Regions from separate parts of the Homo sapiens genome. Here region 2 is linked to region 1. Evidence: promoter capture Hi-C in 16 types of primary human blood cells and fetal thymus (Javierre and others, 2016). All regions are on one chromosome and are shown on one strand. The core of a region is centred on a gene start or on the middle of the fragment in contact, and the rest is flanking DNA. Distances in the headings are between cores, read along the strand shown.

Region 1 (2,730 bases), core at 2-2,501:
ACCCTTGTGAGAAGACCTTTATTAGTTTGTGACTAAACCAGGCGTGTGCTGCTTTTCTGATCTGTCCAATTTTAGAATTGTTATTACCAAAGTATATATTTGACAACAGGAAAAATATATTTTATCAGTTTGACAACAAATATTTATTGATCATCTGCTGTTTGCTTGGCATGGTTGTAGATGCTTGGGATACAGCTGGTGGGTTGCAGCTTACTTTCCCACGGAGGACAGACAGTGTACACGGAGAATTTCAGCTCCTGAAAAATACTCTGGTCTAAATAAAACAGAGCCGTGGCAGGGGCAGGGGGGCTAGAGAAGTCCTATTTGAAAAGATAACATTTCAGCTAGCATTGGAGGGACAGGGAGTCAACTGCGGGAGATCTGGGGAGAGCTTTCCAGGCAGAAGGAACTGCCAGGACATCTGAGGAACGGAGGGGTGGGCAGTGGCCCTTGGCACAGTGAATGAAGGAAAAACACACACTTTTATAGAGATGCCATGACTTGGAGTTCTTATTCTGCCCATTTTGGTTGGAGACAATGATGATGTCCAGCTCATAAGAATGTTGCTAAGTAAGGTAATGAAGGTAAATAGTAGTAATAATACACATCACTGATAGTTTTAAACATCATTAATATGCCTTCCACAGAATTTATGTGAAGGAGAAACTGATAAAGTAAATGTTACTTTAACTCATGGCTTTGTTTATGTGTTTGTTTACTAATTTATTATCTTTTAAAACTGTAGACTGTGTTGCTAATTATCTGCAAACATTAATGTTTATGTTGATTTCTCTTTAAAGGTTAAAAAGCTAAAGAGAGAGCTCTCACAGATGAAGCAGGAACTGCTCTATAAAGAACAAGGCTTTGAAACATTGCAGCAGTGAGTATGAAAAGACTGAATCAACTTTAGAATAAGCTCCCTAACTAGTATGAATACAAAGAAAATAGAAGTACAGATTACATAAGCGATTTCTTAAAGAAACGTAAAGTAAAAAAGTTCAGAGCTCTACACCAAAAGAAAATAAAGCAATCAACCAACAGATAAAAAAACTTGGGAAAGATCTATGCACTTGAAAAGATCCAAAGTTTTTATTAATCATTGGAGATCCAAAGAAACCAAAGTGAAAAGCCTTTGTCTTACCTTTATCTCCTGGACCCTTGCTGGCCTCCTCTGAGATTGTGGTACAGAGCTAAGAGACTAGGCACAAGAAATTCCTCTCCACATTCGGCTGGGCTGGCTGTACTTGACCCCTGTGTGAGCCTGCAGCTGCCCTGGGCCCTTGGGTGGAGGCGTGTCTGTCTCTCTCTCTCTCTCTGCCAGCCCCAGGGATGACCTAGAGTCTAACCCTGACAGATGGCAGGGGAGCAAGAGCAAGTTAGGATTATTAGCAAAGGAGCGGGAGTGCGCTCCTCACTTCCTGGTTCCTCTACCTTTCCCGTTTGCTACTGAAGTTGGCTGGGCCGTTAGCAGAGCCCTAAGCTGGGCCAGGTAAAGTGGAAATGGAGGTGACAGAGGGTCACAGGATGAGGATATCCCTTCCGCATTCCCGGCCCCTGAAAGCCACTGTTCTCCCTGCTGCTGAGGCCCAGCCTATCCAAACCGTGACAGGCACACCTGAGACTTTCTAATCCTGCAGTCTCCACTCCACAGGGCCTCTCATGGGAGAGAAGCAGTCCATGGTTTTCACAGCCACATGACCACGGAGAGGAGTTAAAACTTCCCTCCTGCTTGGTGCCTCCAAGTGCGGTGCAGTATTTTTAGGGATGTCCCTGGTCAGTTTTGTGTTCAGGCAGGTTTCGTGTTCTTCCCGGCATCTCCCGTGGTAGCACCTCAGGAATGCCAAGCTGGTCTCAGGCGCCACCTCTGTGGAAAGTACCCAGCTGTGTTCCTTTTCCCTGTGGAATCTTACTTTACCTTCTGCTCTTATTTGGGATGCTCCAAGCAGCAAGCCCCTTTAAAGATCCTGTGTGTCACTGGCCAGATAAACAAACTGGTTGTTCTTGTTTGGGTGATTAGTCATATCTTGGGATACGCAGGCACTGCTCTTGACCACCAGTCAGACGCATGACTTTAATTTCACACGTGCTGTTATCATCCAGACTCCTTTTTTCCTGCTTACCGCATAGAATCATGACCCTGATACTCCTTCAGATGCTCCCATCCTAGTGGTTCTCAAACCTGACTGCATATTAGAATAATCTGGAGAGTGCTTAGAAAAATAATGTTTCTAGTCTCTATGCCAGGTATATTTTATGAGATCCCAAGTGCTTCTCAAGTCCAGCCCTGTTGTAAGAACCTCAGCTGGTTGCAGAGCTCCCCGATAAACCAGGCAGAACTAGAATGACATAAATGCATTATTTAGTAATTGTTTATCAGCATAAAGCAGGGCTTCGTGGTGGGGGTGGGGAGAGAAAACAGAGTTTGAAGAGTGCCGTAACGTGTTTAGCCATATGTTCCACATTTTTAAGGCACATGAAATTATAACTCGCGTCACCATTTGGGATTAAAGGTTAGCCAAACTTGCTGTCTTTGTTATATTGATGTAACAATGCTGTATTGTTTCAAAGCAGTTTGCTTGCAAGCAATTTTTATAGGAATCTAAGGCATGTTTAAGAATCTGTCAATAACATTCCACAAGAAAACAATAGACATTTGTTGTAGAAATTCAGGCATTCTCTTGGAATGATTCTAATCCCTTGAACCGAGAGCAGAAAGATATGATATCTAAC
Region 2 (2,806 bases), core at 68-2,567, 760 kb before region 1:
CAAACTGAAGCCTTTTGCAAATATAGCTGCTGGAGGCTCTTGGTATCGTTAATTGTTTGCTAAAATATCCTAGAAACACAGCAGGCCAGTTTTCTAATGATGTTTTTCAAAATCACAATTTCCTTTTGCCAAAGTGTGAAAGAATTGTTTTTGAAATACAGTTTTTAAGTTTGCTTGTAGGCCTTAAGTAACTAATATATTAACACATTTGCTTTAAATTCATATATATGCATATATATTTAATTTTAAAAAGTGTCTTCGTAAAGATGAAAAGTTAAAATTTGGTTCTAATTCTATTTGGAACTCTGTATCTTTGAAAACAGTACTATTTAATGAACAATTGGTTGTATCATTTTAATTTTTCTTTTTTTTGAAAAATCAAAGCATATAGATATTTTATGAAATTTTCTTAGGCTTCTTGTATTTTAACTCTGAATTTATGTGGTGGATCTCTAGACACAATATGAATTTTCTGTCAATGACTAAAATATGGTTTTATTATGTCAAATCTGAACTGACATATTTTTAGGCAATTGTTTCAGGGAACAGAGAATTGGGTATTTGATTTTGAGATATACGGAGTCATTTTATTGAGTTTGAAAGGCACAAGTAGTTGAGAGAGTTTCCTTTTTTTCTGTTAAATACTAGTCTATTTGAAGAGTCGTTTTCTTTTCTTTCTTTCTTTCTTTTTTAATATAATCCTCTTATCTATTGCTTGGGGTTAGAAGTTGAGAAATTGCATTTTGCCAAAGTGAATAATTGAGAATTTGTAACACAGACTCTGAAAAATAATTCAGAGAGAGGCCAAGAGAGTTTCTATAACAAGTCGTAAATATATTTTTTAAAGAAACAGACTGAAAAACTAATTTCTAAATCAAGATTTAAATGTAACAATAAACAAGGAGTTAAAGAGAAAGTCCAGATATAAACCTAAAAGTTAAATCGCTTTTCTTTATCTTGAACTTTGTGACAATAAAGAAGACACCTCATTTTCTCTTTTACTTTACCTTGACTTTTCTGAAATTCTTATGAAATAAGTATAGCTCCTGTTAGTTATCTGTTTTAAACAATCTTTTGTGCTTAAAGATTCATTATTCAGTAGGGTAAATCCTCACCTTTACACTTACGTTGAGATTTTTTTAAAATTATTTTTCTACTTTAAAATATGATTATAGGCCGGGCACGGTGGCTCACACCTGTAATCCCAGCACTTTGGGAGGCCGAAGCAGACGGATTGCCTGAGCTCAGGCGTTCACGACCGGCCTGAGCAACACGGTGAAACCCCGTCTCTACTAAAATACACAAAATTAGCCAGGCATGGCTGTGTGCACCTGTAGTCCCAGCTACTGGGAAGGCTGAGGCAGGAGAATTGTTTGAGCCCAGGAGGCAAGGGTTTCAGTGAGCCGAGATGGTGCCACTGCACTGCAGCCTGGGCAACAGAGTGAGACTCTTGTCTCAAAAATCAATCACTCACTCAATACAATAAAATACAATACAATTATAATTTACTTCTAACAATAACTTAATGATTTTTTGCTTTATATCAAAATTTAAGAAGTGATATTTTCTTTGTTACTTTCTTTCATTTCTGGTTATTGTAATGGAAGGCAAAATATGACATACCAAAGAAGTAAATTTCTCTAGACAGTGCACAACACTGAAGTAAATGCAGATACTGTATCTTAATTGAGTATATTTAAATGCAATGTTAATTAAACTTATACTTCAGTTTTTACCTATGAACCTAAAACAAAAGCCACCAATTATACATTGAATTTTATTAAATATTGTATCTATAACTTATAAAAATAATGTAAATTCAGTGATTTTCATTGAGACATGCTGACCTAGAATCACTCACTGAAAAATAGGTTTTGAAGGGTAACTCTTATTTTACTATAAATACGTTTGGCTTAATTACAATAATGCTTTTCAATTTATGGTTCCTTTTCTTTCAAAATAAGGATAAAGTAAACCTAGTTATTAATATGCTTATATCTATATTGTAGATTTTTTGTATGTTCCTATGAACATAATACATACATTGATTTTATTTGCCTTTTAATAACATGGGCAGAATGTAATGTGGAAGGTACCACCACTAATTGTGATTTTAAAAAAATTACCCTTCAGTGTAATCCTGCAACTATTATTGTGGAATATATCAATATGATTAAATTTTGGCATTGCAGAACAGAATCTTCACTGCACTGTAGGTTAGAATACAAGAAAAATTGAAAATAAAATGAGAAAATTTCTTTCTTAACCTTTTGCAATTTTAGTATAATTTTGCTAACCTGTGAAAATGTCTACACATAGGCATTGTCTTGTACATGGCAAGACAGCATTGTCTCTGACACACCTGCATTATTTGAGATGTATGCATTCATGTCAGTTCTTTTCAGAAACAGTAGGTAGGTATTACACAGGAATATGGTCTATTTTTATGGCCTTCTCCCATAAGATGCCTTCTTTGTAACATATCACAGTGTACTTAAAAGAGGTCATTAAAATTAAAAAGATCCAAGGAAGCAGTTACGAGTGTAGACCTTCAATATATGAATTAATTTTGGATTTCAGATTCCTTTTAGATTTGTTTTAGCTCTCTACATGTCATATACTTAAAGTTTTCATTGAAATTAAGAATATTACCCAAATTTTCATATTGCTTTAGGAATATTTACAGGAAAAGAAAAAGAACATGTTTGTTCTTCAGCTATTTTTTTCTTTACGGAGCATATCATCACCACAATTTCATATTCAAGCTTTAAAGCAGAACTCATTAATGCATGTTTCATATGCGTTG

Evidence for each region. Contacts are between HindIII fragments. The CHiCAGO score rates a contact against its expected background, and 5 or more counts as called.
Region 2: a contact is called between a fragment that was not itself captured here and the fragment with the promoter of WWC2-AS1 in region 1, in 1 of 17 cell types (M2 macrophages). The highest score is 5.6, in M2 macrophages.

What each region holds. Positions count from the first base shown.
Region 1 is chr4:183,239,383-183,242,112 of GRCh38, forward strand. It overlaps WWC2-AS1 (WWC2 antisense RNA 1), which reads right to left and starts at 1,252. Exons shown (of 2, transcript NR_126473.1): 1 at 1,142-1,252. It overlaps WWC2 (WW and C2 domain containing 2), which reads left to right. Exons shown (of 23, transcript NM_024949.6): 5 at 801-880. The HindIII fragment of the contact is 11,540 bases long and covers 1-2,730 here.
Region 2 is chr4:182,480,339-182,483,144 of GRCh38, forward strand. The region is part of intron 3 of TENM3 (teneurin transmembrane protein 3); the gene reads left to right. Among named protein-coding and RNA genes, the nearest start is that of TENM3, 240 kb to the left of the region's middle. The HindIII fragment of the contact is 2,892 bases long and covers 1-2,763 here.